Regions from separate parts of the Homo sapiens genome. Here regions 2 and 3 are each linked to region 1. The links are contacts of gene promoters, found by promoter capture Hi-C in blood cells and fetal thymus (Javierre and others, 2016). All regions are on one chromosome and are shown on one strand. The core of a region is centred on a gene start or on the middle of the fragment in contact, and the rest is flanking DNA. Distances in the headings are between cores, read along the strand shown.

Region 1 (4,727 bases), core at 720-3,219:
GGTGTGGGGAAGGGAGTTACATAGAGCAGATACATTAGGTGCCTGCTGGCCTGAGACAAGGCAGAGGGCAGGTCCAGCCCTGGGCTAGAGATGCCCAGCTGCAAGTAGAGGTTTGTGTTGGGGCCTAATCAAGGTGGGAGGAGGTGACTGTAGTGTGATATCTGTGGTCCTGGCTCCTGTCATAAAGGTCCAGAGCTAGCCTTCCCCCAAGTGAGGAATTTACTGGGTCTCGTTGCCCCTCCTCAAAGTGCCCAAGCTTTGCCTGGGCCCTGCAGCCCACAGGGCTCTCCACACCAGAGGTTAATCAAAGGTCCAAGAGCTTACCAAGCCCCCAGTGGCTTCCTCTGTCCTATTCCTCAAAAAGGCCTAGAGAGCCCACTGCCAGAGGTGCACCATGGTGCAGTGACTGTGCAGTGGGTGGTGCCGAATGAGGGGAGCCACACTGGGGGAGGGGGCTCTGCTGGAATCCCGGTGGGGCAGGCAGTCCAACAGTGCAGTGCCCTCTGCCTTGCCCATGCCCACGCCGCTGCAGCAGGCAGGCAGAGCCGCAGAGGAAGATGTTTGTGTGTGGAACAAGGCTCGCCTTGACCCCGCGGCCCTTGCCGAAAGCAGCCTGGCCAAACGGAGACCAGCTCTGCGGGGCCAGTCCAGCTGCCGCCTAGGCGCTTGGGCTGTGACGCATGTAGCGGGCACAGCCCCTCACCACCGGGGGAGCCAAGCAAAGTCCAGCGTTCGGGCGGTCACCAGTGTCAGAAGTGTCTCCAGCAGACAATGACAGGGGCCTGGCGGGCTGGGTATGTTAAGTAACTGCGAAGTTGGAGGGTTTGGCCACCTCGCTAGCTCTCCTGTACACAGAGATGGTATGATACGTTCCGTACTACAATGAGGGCTCCTTCGGCCTCTGGCAAGGAAATGCCCCCCAAACACCGTGCCTATTGCTATTTTTAAACGGGAGGCTGGAGAGGAAAACGCGGCCAGTATCCTCCAAGGGAAAAGGAGGTGAGGCGAGGCGAGGCGGGAGACAAAGCGGCCTTGCAGCTCTAACTCAAGGACTAGCTTGCGCCGCTGCTCTAACCCAAGGACCAGCAAGAGCCCGGCTGCCAGCCAGCCTGCCCGACCGCGGGGGCGGGCGCCAGATGCGCCCGGAGGCCCAGGAGGAGGGGCGCGGCTAGTTGGGGCCACAAGGCCAAGGTTCTGAAGGGAAGTGTGCGACTGAGCTCAGCCCACAGGCCCAACTGAGCTCCTCTGGGGAGGGGGCAGTCTGTGGATGTCCCAATCCACGCCAAAGCCGGTCTCCGTCGGGCCCAAGCCAGCACGCCAGCTTGAGTCCGCAGAAAGGAGGGAGAGGCTGGAGATGCACAGGGGAGGGGAGGGGCGGCAGCCAGGCAGCCGGAGAGAGGGGTGAGCGGTACCCGCGTTACACAGCTGTTCCAGCAAATGTGCTACAACAAAGCTGCAGAGCTCCTGGCCTACAAATGCATGGCTTGGGGTGCTGGCTGGCGGCGCCCTTCCCGGGACTGTGCGGCAGCACGTGCGGGCCCATCCCCGCCCCCCCGAAAGCCGGGAGGCTTGGCCCAGGCTAGCCTGCCTTCCTACCCGCCCTCCCCAACCCCCCTCCCCCCAGCCGTGGTCGCTTGTGCCCAGGGGACTCAAGGCCGCTCTGCCTCTCCACCCGACAGTCCGCAAAGCGGGTTCCAAAGGAGAGGGGCGAGCGACCGGGACTCCGACCCGCCTAGTCCTTAGTGCCCTCCTCCAGTCCGTAGGAGCAGAGCACGCGGGAATGCACCCGACCGCGGGCAGGCGGAGGCTCCTGGCTGTACGCAACGCTTACCCAGCCCGGTCAGGTTCCTAGCCCGGTTATTGTCCGCTGAGCCGCCCTGGGCCGGGCTGCAGCCTCGGCTGCCACGGCTGAGAGCGCCGCCACCGCAGCTGCTGCCGCCGTCGCCGCGGCTCCAGTCACCTCCAGCACTGACTCCCCTTCCCCAGGCTTTGGGTAGCTCCCCCATACCCCCTCCCCCAGTACTCCAAGGCCACCGGGTGGGGCATCTGCGTCCTGATTGGCAGGCATATGGCCCAATCGCTATGGTGGGAAGGCGTGCCCCGGCCCGCCCACTGTTTTCCTTGGTGCGTTTCTCTTTAAATGCAAATAAGTGCAGGCGTGGTGTTGGCAGGGGGCGGAGAGGGTGCGGAACCACTGGCTGGGGCTCCCCACTCCCGCCCCCACGCCGGGCTGGTAGTGGCGTGGCTACACCGTGGCCTCAAGGAGCCAGTCCTGCCCGGATGGGGCTCGCCGGATCGGTTTCGGTTTTCACGCACTCCCATTTCTGTGGCCGCTGTGCATTCGCGGTACTGTGCCCTGGCCGCCACCAGGACGTTTATTCCTGAGCTAGAGGCCGGCGGGGAGTAACGAGGCAGAGAGGTTGAGGAATCTGGGAAGACTGCAGAAACCTAAGGGCCGGCCTATCCTTAGTCGTAGAGACAAGGCCCTGCGGATCGCGCCGCCAGGCCACCCAGAGGAGGGACTCACCTGCCAGGAAAGCTAGCTGCAGCGCCTGCGCCCTAACTTCGTCCGCCTCTCTGGCACACCAGTGCCCTTAGAGACCATAGAGGCCAACTTCCACCCGTTACCGACGGGCCCTCTGCTGCCCAGAGTGGGGAAAGTCCCTCCCCACAGTTACCCAGCCTGCCGGCGACAAGGGCCAATTTGGAATCCAGAGCCCCGGGCTCCCTTTCCAGGATTGCTTTCACTTTTCTTCTCTGAGATGATACCTGTTTCCATAGTTTGACCCTCACCCAAATTTCGCACCTTCTATGGAATGTGGAGGGAATCCCCAAGGTCTCCAGAGTCCCCCTTCCCCCATCCTTTGTGAGCCTGGCTTTCGGCAGGCCTTTTTCCTTGAAAAGTCTAAATATTGAGAGGAAAATCTTGTCTGGGCCCAAACCGGAGGTCAGGCTGAGGACAAAGTGAGGAGGCCTGTACCAGCCTTGTCTGCTACTGTGTGTGGGATGTGGCAGGGAGCCCGGCGAACTTGGGTCTCTAGCCTAAGGACATTAAGTGGCATCAGTGGCTGCCAGGGCCAGGTGAGCTGAGGCAGCAAAGAATCTAGTTCCACCACTAGTTCAAGAATATCCAGAAGGCCCAGCCCTAAAACTCTGTGTGTGTCTAAAAAGGGAGGTGGGTGGATTAAAGCTGAGGATAGAGAGAAGGATTAGAGAACAATGCGTGCTATTTTTGCATTGCAGGAGTGTTCTCTGCTGCTTCTGGGTCCTGACAGTCTTGAAAAGATCCAGCTGCTGAACTGGTAAGAGGTGGACTGCTGCCTCTGCATGTGTAGAGCACAGGAACTGACATGGCTGCTAGGGATCTGACTCTAGCTCTACCTCAGACTTGCTGGACACCTTGGCCAATTCATTTTTTTCTCTGGGCCAGGGCATCACCCCACCTCCACAAGGAGAGGGTAAGCATCATCAGGCTCCCTTGATATCTTTGAGATCTGACAGTTCAACTCATTTTTTTCTATAATATTCCATGATCTTCCACGGAATATTATAGAAAATATAGATGTTCCATGACCTTCCATGGCATTCTATACATTGCCAACAAAAATCAATATTGAACATCAGACTCCCATCCTAGTACTGAGTCTAAATAAACGATGAGGAGTAGGGAGCTGCTGCTGGCTCATTATGCAACTTTTTTCCCATCTGGATGGCTGGACTATAAAAGTTTCCCTGGGGCTATGCTTTCCTGCTTTGCAAAGTCCTGATTCTCATTTGTGGGCCTGATTTGGAAGTTTATTTTCTTTTCCAGAATCTCCATTATAGACTTCCTCCCTACCTCGTGCCTCTGGTCACTGCCACTTGCTCACATTTCACTCAGAACCTTGATTCTTTGAATTAGACTAAGATTATGAGAAGGCAGTTTGCAAACCTGGGGTCCAGGGAAACAAAGGGCCAGAGCAGTCTCAGTTGTGGAAGCAGGGAGAGAGGAGGTGTGCAAAGTAGTCAGGTGGCAGGCTTGAAATAGTCCCAGGCACTATTGTGCTGCTCCTGTCACAGGGGCTAGTCTTCTATGCCTTCTGCCCAGCCACCAAACATTCTGTCACACCAGTCAGTTTTTGGAGTGACTAGTGTGGGAGGAACAATTCGTGAGAAATTGAGCTAAACCCAAAAGAAATGGGGCTTCAGGAAAAAAAATATTCTTTGTGATCCTAGAGAACTCCCAGCTGAGCACCCTTCTTTATGGTCCAGATATTACTGAGTCTTGGGAGGATACTGTATGTGTGTATTAAAGGGGAAAAGATGTGGGAGGGGACAACACAGCTTCTTGTTTGCATAGCTCACTTCTCTCCAGGGACGATGTATGGAAAGACCAAGTGTGTGCATAAACTTGCACCTCAAAATGCCTCCTCATAGAGAGAGTACTGTAAGACCCCATTCCACATGCTGACTGACACGTGGTCAACTTGCTTAGTCAAGACAGGCACTGGTTGTGAGGAGCTGGAAATCTTTCTTAAGTTTGTTTACCTGCAAAATGGAGATAATCCTCGTGCTGCCTAGTGTCTTGTGGCTGCGGTGAAAAGCCCATAAGAACAGATGTGTGGGCTGTGTGGAGGCAACTTCATAAACTCAAGTAGACACATCATTACAGGGCACATCATTACAATGCTCATTTCTTTCTTCACCAAGTATTCCATAGTCATTTCCTCTATGCCAGGCCTGTTGAT
Region 2 (4,727 bases), core at 1,196-3,695, 850 kb before region 1:
CTGGCGACCGGGTCTTTGCGGCGCAGGGAACCCGCCCCCTCTGAGCCCGCCTGAGCCTTGGCCCCGCCCCCAGCCATCCCGCCTTCCGCTCTGCGGGCGGCAGCCGGGCTGGTCAGCGCGCGTGCCCGTGTTCAGTTTGTATTGACACACGCGCCCTCTCTTTCATTTCCTCCTCCGCCCCTCGACCGTTTCCCTCAAACGCCAGCCAGACAGGCCGACTCCCCTCCTCCTCCTTTCTGGCGGTCTGCTGCCCGCCAGCCTCCTACACAGTGGCTCCATCTGCTTTCTGTCTTCCAGGAATTCCTCACTTAAAAAAAAAAAAAATGTAAAACACACGCACACCCAGAAAGAGTTTGTGCATACAAATTATTTTCTTTCAGTTTAAGATATTTAAGATGAGAATAAAAACCCTGTGTACAATTTACAGACCACCATCTTAATCCAAAATCTGTTTTATATTTTCTACCTGATCATTTCTAGTAATTATTTTTATTTTTTTTTTTTTTGTCAGAATGTAAAGGTCATGTACTGACATTGTGGAGATCTTCTAAAATTCAGTGAAATAAAAGACGAAACTACCATTAATTTTACCATCCAGACTGCACCAAAATGTTAACAATACTGTTTTCTCTCCTATTAATAAACCTGTACTTATATTTTATAAAATTGGGAGCATATTTCATACTTTTATAACTTGTGTTTTTCATGTATATCATGAACATTTTCCAAGATTGTTAAATACTCTGAAAACATGATTTTTAATAGTAATATTAAATATTTGTAATATTCCTTTTGATAGTCCACTATTTATCCTACATGATCTATAACATAAGTATAAATAAAAACATTTTACCTTCATAAATGGATTTATTGTCTAAACCATTTTTTAAAAGAAGATTTAATGACATGGAGAGCTGCACATGAGATGAGTACAATGAAAAAGCAAAATATTGAAACAATATTGTGGTCTTAATTTTGTAGAGAGAGAAAGAAGGGATTTTTTGTGTATATATTTGCTGTTTTTCTGATTATAAAAGTGCTGCATGCTTATATCGAAAACCTGCAAGAAAAGAAAGTGTCCATAATTTCACTTACCTTAAGTCACAGAGCTGCTATGAGGATTAAATGAGAATGTCTGTAAAGCTTTTAACACTATATCCCACTTACAAGATGACATTAAAATCCAGAAGAGTCTAGGGTTCTCATTTTCATTCCTCTACTCTTCACTGGTGAAAAGAGAAAGCGTCATATAATCATGAGTAAAAAAGGCAATTAATTCACCTGGAAACAAAACCGGGGCAAAAGCTGCAAGGTGTCAATACTGGTTGCCTGAACATTTCATTACCTTCCAAGTCAGTGACAGAGAGACCTAGTCCTCATTCTGTTTAATAGCTGGTCACACAGAATGTGTAAGGATCCTCCAGTTCACCATGTTTCCCAGGCAAAGGACTTCAGAGATGGGATAATTCTTTAATGCCATATTACAAGATAGTAATTCCAAGGAAGAAGGTAAACTACATGTATGAACAGTTATTTCCAAACACTTAGAATGACATCGTGGTGTATATATATTCACACATATACACAACCTACACATTCATACTCAAAGTCAGAAGGTGAACGTATGTAAATGTTATGCCATTATGTTCCACAAATAATGTCTTCCAAATAATTCCCCAGACCAAGATACACCAAGCACTTTTTGCTCAGAAGAGCAGTTGACACATGAAAGAAGAAGATGACCCACAGGGCACACAAATGCAGGGAAAACAGTTTCCTCAGGCCTTTGGTTACATCCTTCAAGGGAATTCTTGCTTACAACCCCACAAAGTGGCCTGAAGAGACAAAAAAAAATTCGAATACCCTTTCTTCTCCAAAATTATGATTCTAATATTCAGACCATTCACTAACATATAGATTTAAAAGGCCTTATCATGCTGATATAATGTTCACTTTGTATGACTCCCACTGGACAATAAACTTATTCAAGAAGGGATTTTTATCTTGCATCCCAAATACCCTACACAGAATAGAGACTCAATAAACATTTGTTAAATGAATAAATAATTGCTTTCAGCTGCCCTGCCCCAATGCAAAGACATCTTCCACAGTGAAACAAGTAGCCTTACACAAGCTTTTGACGACTACAGTTCTGGCAACTCAGGCTCTCCCTCAGCAATTTTATCCTTTTAAAACACCTAAATCACTGACCCTGTGAATACATGTGCCCATAAGTCTGAAAATGCTTAGGAGAAAACATTAAAGCAAGTGGGGCGGGGGCAAGCTTTCATCAACCTACATGTGTGGATAACAATAAAACTTACCTCAAAGTGTAAGTGTGAGGATTAAATTAGATAAATACACACAAATCTCTCAGCACATGAACTGGTACATAGTAAGTACTCAGTTGTCTCCTAACTAGTCATCTCCTGAAAGAAGTTATTTTGTCTTATTACATCTTTTTACAAACCACCCAGCTCATACCCCACCTCTAAACCTTTCCTCTGTTTTACACTCAAGACCTCTTGGCCAGGGCTTGTGAATCAAGGAGGGCTATGGCATGATTTGTTCCTTATATCCAATTTCAGAGCAATATTTCAAATACTGGAAGCTTCTGGAAGATTGACTTCTTAATAAATAAACATTAGTGAAAATTAATTTGGAATACTCAGTGTTAATTTATAATTGGAGGGGTGGTGGAGGGAGGTATAACTATTGTTAATTCCAGTGTGCACAAAAGATTATAATGCATGCTATAAAAGAGGTACAACTGAAGCACTAGGGGACCCAAAGGAGGTAGTGATTTTTTATGGCTGGGGAGATCAGCAAAGACTACTTGAATGTCTAAAATAACAACAAAAGAAGATATTCAGAGGGTGGCAGTGTAGTGAGGTATTTTCAAAGAGCTCAAGGAACGACATAGAGGGTGAATGGTTACAGGATATGTGACAAACTAGTCAGGAGTTTGTGACAAGAGCACAGAGTTCGTTGTGATAAGGAAAAGGGGGTATAGTTTGTGGTGTGGAACAAAGTTAGTCAAAAACCTCAAAGTTGAGAACTGATATTTCATCCACTGTTGGTGGAAGTAGCTGACATTCCAGTTCCCCTAACAATGTAGTGTTGGTGTTACCAAGCAGAGAGCTGATCTTCCATGCTTCATCTGACAGAAAACAGGCAGTGTTTTTATTCCCCTGGAAGACAAATACTGGTGATGCTGAACAAAGAGCTGATCTACTACCTCTCTGGCAGAAGCAAATGGTACTCTGATTCCCCTGCCAGGATAGTGTCAGCAAGGTCAAATGGTAAGTTGCTCCACCACATTCATCTGGTAGTGTGAGGTAGTGCTAGTAATTGTTATGATACACTCACACCCCATATAAACCTGACAGCAATGAGATTGAATACAGTAGAGCAAGTCAGGGCTAGTCAGCACTCTGGTTCCCTATACCCCTAATGTCAGTGAAAACCAGTGAGTAGCTGACCTTCCATCCTCATCCACAGTCAGTGAGACAGAACAAAGGGAAACATGATGGGACTAGATGGTACTCAACTTTCCCTAAACCTTTTGTGTCAATGGGTCCCAGAGTTCAGATAAGCCCCCACTCCCACTTTGAGGTCATAAGATGGTATGAACCTGTAACCCATTATCACCACGAAGGTGTCAGCAAATTTGGGATGGGAGCTGAACTTCTGTACTGCCCATGTTCAATGAGGCAGTGTGAGTTAGTGCTGCATTTTTTCAAAGGTTGTGTCAGGGGAACCTAACAGAAGAAGCTGAACATATATACAAAAGCAGCCCTTCAGCCACAAAACAATAGGGGGGCTCTCCAATAAAAAGTTTACAGAGAACACAGAGTCTCATGATATAAAATTAAAAAGTGACTAAGATGCAATTAAAAAAAAATCATACAAGGAACAAGGGAAATCACAACTTAAAAGAGACAAGACAATTAACAGGTGCCCAAAACAGATAAAAAATCGATGTTGGAAATATTTGAAATAGATTTTAAAGCAGCCATCATTAAAAAAAGTGATTCAATAAGCCCAGGCATTGATGAATGTCTTTAAGTATCAAGAGCATTCAGGGAAATATGACCTCACTGAACTAACTAAAGAAGGTGCCAGTAACCAACCCTAGAAAGATGGATTTGTGTGACCTCTCAGAGAATTCAAAATAGCTGTTTCAAAGAAGCTCAGTGAACTTCACTGAGAAGCAATTAAGAAATTTATAAGAGAAATATAACAAAGAGATTGAAATAATAAAAAATCAAACAAATCATAGAGGTGAAAAATATAATGGATGGAATTACAAATGCATTATGGTATTACAACAGTAGATTTGATCAAGCAGAAGAAATAATCAGTGAGCTCAAATACAAACTATTTAAAAATATACAATCAGGCCGGGTGCGGTGGCTCACACCTGTAATCCCAGCACTTTGGGAGGCCGAGGCAGGTGGATCGTGAGGTCAGGAGATTGAGACCATCCTGGCTAACACAGTGAAACCCCATCTCTACTAAAAATACAAAAAATTAGCCGGGCGTGGTGGCGGGTACCTGTAGTCCCAGCTACTTGGGAGGCTGAGGCAGGAGAATGGCATGAACCTGGGAGGCAGAGCTTGCAGTGAGCTGAGATCACACCACTGCACTCCAGTCTGGGTGACAGACCGAGACTCTGTCTCAAAAAAAAAAAAAAAAAAAAAAAAAAAAAAATATATATATATATA
Region 3 (4,727 bases), core at 1,328-3,827, 780 kb after region 1:
TTAAGAATCCAGGCTAGCAGTGAGAGGAAGGAAAATGTTGTAGAGAAACAGTGGGGAAGAGAAGGAAACTATAGCCTTCTGCCCCTTCTTCTGAAGCAGCACTTAAAACAGTATCTGCAAGCCAAGGTGGTGGCTTTTCCATAGTAAGTGTTCAGTAGCTCTCAATTGATCAGAAGTTTGCAATGGCTGAAACAATATTTAAGATATGGGCTAGCAGTGAGTTCTAATGCATGATTTTATTAGAAGAACTGATTGATTTGAGGGGTTAGAAATAAAAAAAAATCTTAGTTTTATCAGGGCCAACATTATTCTTATTGCTAAGGCAATAAGGCAGGGTATGTTGGGGTTAATACCATTAAAATGCAAGAAATTAGCAAAAGGGAAGCCAGTCAGTCTCGATTATACTTTCAGGGAATAGATCAAGACTTTAAAAATGGAGGCCAGAATATTGAATTCACAGATATTTCTTTGTACTTCAACAGTGAACTAAACTAAAAGGAGGCAGAGATGCAACAACAGTCTTGGTTCCAAATTGCCTTTCAAAAAGTAGTGCAAATTACTTATTAAATTTCTCATTATATTTCTTAATCAGCATTTCTAAGAGAAAAGTGAGCCAAAAGTTTTCAGCCCAAAAATGTTTATTGTGCACCTATGATATGTCAGGAACCATCGAGGTTTCAGTGAAGATTTCATAGCAGATACGACAGACATGGGCCCTGCCCTTACCAAGCTTACCATTTAGTGAGAGAGACCAGCTATTACAAAGATCATGCATACATATATAGTTATACCTAGCAATCAGGGCTTGAAATAAGTCTAGGTTCTGTGAGCAAGACACACACACATAAGGGGAGAACCAATTTAGTCCTGAGAAGTGGGCAAGGAGTCAGGGAAAAGCTTCCTGAACAAAACTAGGCAGGATGAGAGAGGAAGGGAGGGAAACAGCAGGAGGTATCGAGGATTAATTCATGCAAACAGCCAACAAATATTTACTGAACACTTACTACATGCCAGGCACTCTCCTAGGTTCCAGGGATATATAGTGCTTTGCATGTATTAAGTTAGTTTAATCCTTGCAAAAACTTCACAGGAAGTATATATTATTATCATCCTTATTTTACAGAAGAGGAAGTTGAGGCACAGAGAAGTTAAGTAACTTGCCCAGAGTAACACAGCTAGTAAGTGGCAGAACTGAGATTCAAATTTAGAGAGTCTGCCTCCAGAAGCCATGCTCTCACCTACTATGTTCTATTAGTTACCCAAGATCCCAGTTCTTAGGAAGTTTACATTCTAGTAGGAGGAGCCAGACAATAATGACAGAAAAGAAAAAAAAATAAACATAATAATATTTGGGGGAGATAAGCCCATAAGACACTAATTGAGGATAATAGGACAGAATGATGGCAGGAGGGGGAATGTTTTAGTTAGGATGGTCAGGGAAGGCTCCTGTTCAGAGATGACATTGTAGTGGAGACATAAGGAGTTGGGCATACAATGATCTGGAGGAAGAGTGCTCCAGGCAGAACGAATAGCCGGTGCAATGGTCCTGAGTCAGAAAATGCTTAGCCTATGAAAAAAAAAAGTAGGTAGGGCTCTGGCTGATTAAGGGGAGCAGAAGTAGACTGAGGAGACAGTTTATGTCATTGAACTGTTATTCTAAAAACAGGGTCTTGTAAACCATGGTGATGAGTCTGGGTTTTATTCTAATTACAATAGGCAAACATTGAGGGTTTTAAGCAGGGGAGCAACATGATCTAGTTTTTAAACATCACTGACTGCTGTGAGAACAGATTTTATTGGGGCAAAAGTGGAAGTAGGAAAACCAGTGGGAAAACTATTACAGTTGTCCAGGAAAGAAATTATGGTGGCTTGAATTACAGTAGTAATAGTAGATATGAAGAAAAATGGGCTGATTGGGAACATATTATTGGGCACAGAACTGATATGATTAGCTCATGGATAGGATGGAGAGGTACGGAGGGCGAGATAAGGCATCTAAAATGACTCCTGGATTTTTGGCTTCAGTAATAAGGTCAGTGCCATTCACTGAAACAGGAAAGACTGGAAGAGAACCGTACGATGTTAGAGCTAGAAGGCACTCACATGTGATATATGGAAAAACTGAAGAACAGAAATGGTAATTGACCTCCCTAGGTTAGGGAGTTAGGAGCTGAGATAGGTAATCTCATTCTTCACACTCTCTCAGAAAATTTTCATGTTCTCCATCACTTCAGCCCTTCAGCTGGGGTGTTGAGGGGTGTGTTTGAAGCCTTAACTTTGAAGATTCCCCTAGGAGATGGGACTTGTGGGTGATTAGCCAGAATTTGTATCTGCTTACATAGACAGTGCTAGGTATTCTCAGGCAATGTTTCAGCTGAAATTCTTGCTGTTTTTGATGGCTTTATGTCATTGAAATTTCACTCCTCTATTCTTTCTCACCTACCCAATGTCACTGACCTAGATCCCCCAAATGCAAATTTCAGGGAACAAAGATCTGGCAGTGGAAGTAGGGGAGTCCCATTTTTCCCCTCTGCAAGTCCGAAAAACCCTAGTGTAAAAAATCCTATTATAAAAGCAGTCTAGTGTACATCTACTGCATTTTCTTAGTAAACTTTCATCCACACCCTCCCCTCTTCTTCAATTCTCACCTCTTTGAGAGTGACCAAAACTGACTGTCTAGCTCCAATGACCTTCCGTTTCTAACAGCCTCCTTTATATCACCAGAACTAAGTATGGGATTGAGTTTCCAAAAGGGCTGAGTCTTACCAGGTTCCCTGCACATCTTTCCCAGGCTGGGGTACTTTAGAACTACTCATAGGGCCCTTGTCCCCCTCACAGAGCTGTTTAATGATTAAATGAAAAGAGATAAGTTATGAGAAAGCACCTAGCACATTGGTTGAATTATAATAGGCATTGATTACAGGTCAATATCCCTCATCCTTCTCACCACTTGCCCTAATTCTTAGAGTCATTTGGAGAACCCAAATTTGGGGATAATTCAGTGAATAGAAACAGGAGAGAAGCATGAAAAAACTATAAATAAGTTGTCTTGATTTAGGCTTGAGAAGACAATGACAGAGGCTTCATTTAGAAATCTCAAAATGGACAGGGCAGCATTTGATGTGAAGGTTGTAGCCATTATTTCCCCTAAGTTTGGGGCAAAATGGCTTCATTTATAGTAGAAGCGTTAGAGGGATGATAACTTATAAAGCCACAATGACAAATAAGCAACCACAAGGAAAAGATGGACAGATTCAACTGTATAAAAATGTACAATGAAAAATGACACTCATAAAATAAAAATGAAACAGACTGGGAAAGTAAAAATAACACATAAATCTTAGTAGTACCCCACCCAGGGGTTGGTTGCATTGTAAACAATAGACCAAACCTTATGCCTATGAATGAAACATCTGGTATCTGCAAGTAAACAGATTGGGAGAGGAGTGGGAAGGCAGATGTCCTCTCCTGGGCCTTCAAAATCCCCTTGCATATATCACGTATAATTGCCCAGCTTGACTTCCCAGATAGCCCTTCCTTTCCTAGCACAGGTGGCAGTATGCATAGTGGTGAGGCACCCAGACTCTTCAGTCAGGCTGCCTGAGCTCACCTCTGGTCTCTACTATTTTTAGCTATCTGACTCAAGGGCAAATAACTTCCCCTCTATGGGTTTTGGTCTTCTCGTATGGAAAATGGAAATGATAGTAATTGTAACTAACTCTTAGGGTTGTAATTAAATTAATATACGGAACTGGCTAAAACAGCATAATAAATACTGTAGAAGTGTCTGCTATTATTATTAAGATGGATATTCTTCAATAAACTTTCTTGTTACCTCCTTGTTTTCCATCATTGGCAGCCTAGCTCCCCTACCAGACAGGTTCCTATTATCCTCTAAATCACAAGACTTGAAAACGATTGTGCTTATCTACTTGGGAATGAAAATACCAAACAAATGCATCATAGATGTGGCCAATCTGTCATAAAATTGAGGATATAACAAATTTATACATCTGACATTATTTAAAAATATGAAAATCATGTTCCCAGTCCTATAAAATGACTGTAAATTTACTATATACACTGATTACATGATCTACTCTTCCAATTAATAAGATAAATCATATATAGTGTATGTTAGCACATAAAAATGTATCTCAACTTATATCATAAACTAGATCAAAAAATAACCTGTAGCTCTACGGAATAGTATTCAAACATTTAACTTAAAAAAGTTTTGCCTTCTAAAAATTTAGATAAGCTTTTTGGGGAATAATTTGAATGATTTTGGGTTTCTTGAGGGAAAAAGAGTAATTGAAGACACAAAGGAATTCAAGGAATGTCTTCTTGACCCAACATTTCACTTCAACACGTTTATTAGTAACCTCCTTGTTTTCTTTGTTGAAATTTTAGATTTGGGGGTACATGTGCTTGTTTGTTACATGGATATTATATGCATAATGGTGGGGGTTGAGCTTCTAGCATACCCATCACCAAAATATTGGACATTGTACCCAGCAGGCAGTTTTTCAACCTGCACCTCCCTCCCATCCTCCATGGTTTTTGAGTCTCCAGAGTCGATTTTCTCCACCTTTATGTCCATGTATACCCTTTGTTTAGTTTCCACTTATAAGTGAGAACATGTGATATTCTATTTTCTGCTCCTGTGTTAGTTCACTTAGGATAATGTAATCACCCAAGGGGTTCATCTTGCTCACTTCCCAGAA

What was found. The method cuts DNA at HindIII sites, captures the fragments that hold promoters and counts their contacts. A CHiCAGO score of 5 or more calls a contact.
Region 2: a contact is called between a fragment that was not itself captured here and the fragment with the promoter of AMER1 in region 1, in 2 of 17 cell types (monocytes and total CD8 T cells). The highest score is 10.1, in monocytes.
Region 3: a contact is called between a fragment that was not itself captured here and the fragment with the promoter of AMER1 in region 1, in 7 of 17 cell types (non-activated CD4 T cells, naive CD4 T cells, total B cells and 4 more). The highest score is 8.9, in non-activated CD4 T cells.

The regions. Positions count from the first base shown.
Region 1 is chrX:64,203,739-64,208,465 of GRCh38, forward strand. AMER1 (APC membrane recruitment protein 1) reads right to left here and starts at 1,970. Exons shown (of 2, transcript NM_152424.4): 1 at 1,832-1,970. LOC112268307 reads left to right here and starts at 2,208. Exons shown (of 4, transcript XM_047442706.1): 1 at 2,208-2,346; 2 at 3,244-3,302. The coding sequence starts at 2,281. RefSeq lists silencers at 1,077-1,136, 2,117-2,216 and an enhancer at 2,347-2,506. The HindIII fragment of the contact is 4,951 bases long and covers 255-4,727 here.
Region 2 is chrX:63,351,331-63,356,057 of GRCh38, forward strand. SPIN4 (spindlin family member 4) reads right to left here and starts at 2. Exons shown (of 1, transcript NM_001012968.3): 1 at 1-2. SPIN4-AS1 (SPIN4 antisense RNA 1) reads left to right here. Exons shown (of 3, transcript NR_046739.1): 3 at 512-858. RefSeq lists a silencer at 1-220. The HindIII fragment of the contact is 327 bases long and covers 2,283-2,609 here.
Region 3 is chrX:64,979,542-64,984,268 of GRCh38, forward strand. It overlaps a transcript of ZC4H2 not described here. Among named protein-coding and RNA genes, the nearest start is that of ZC4H2, 5.5 kb to the left of the region's middle. The HindIII fragment of the contact is 3,364 bases long and covers 896-4,259 here.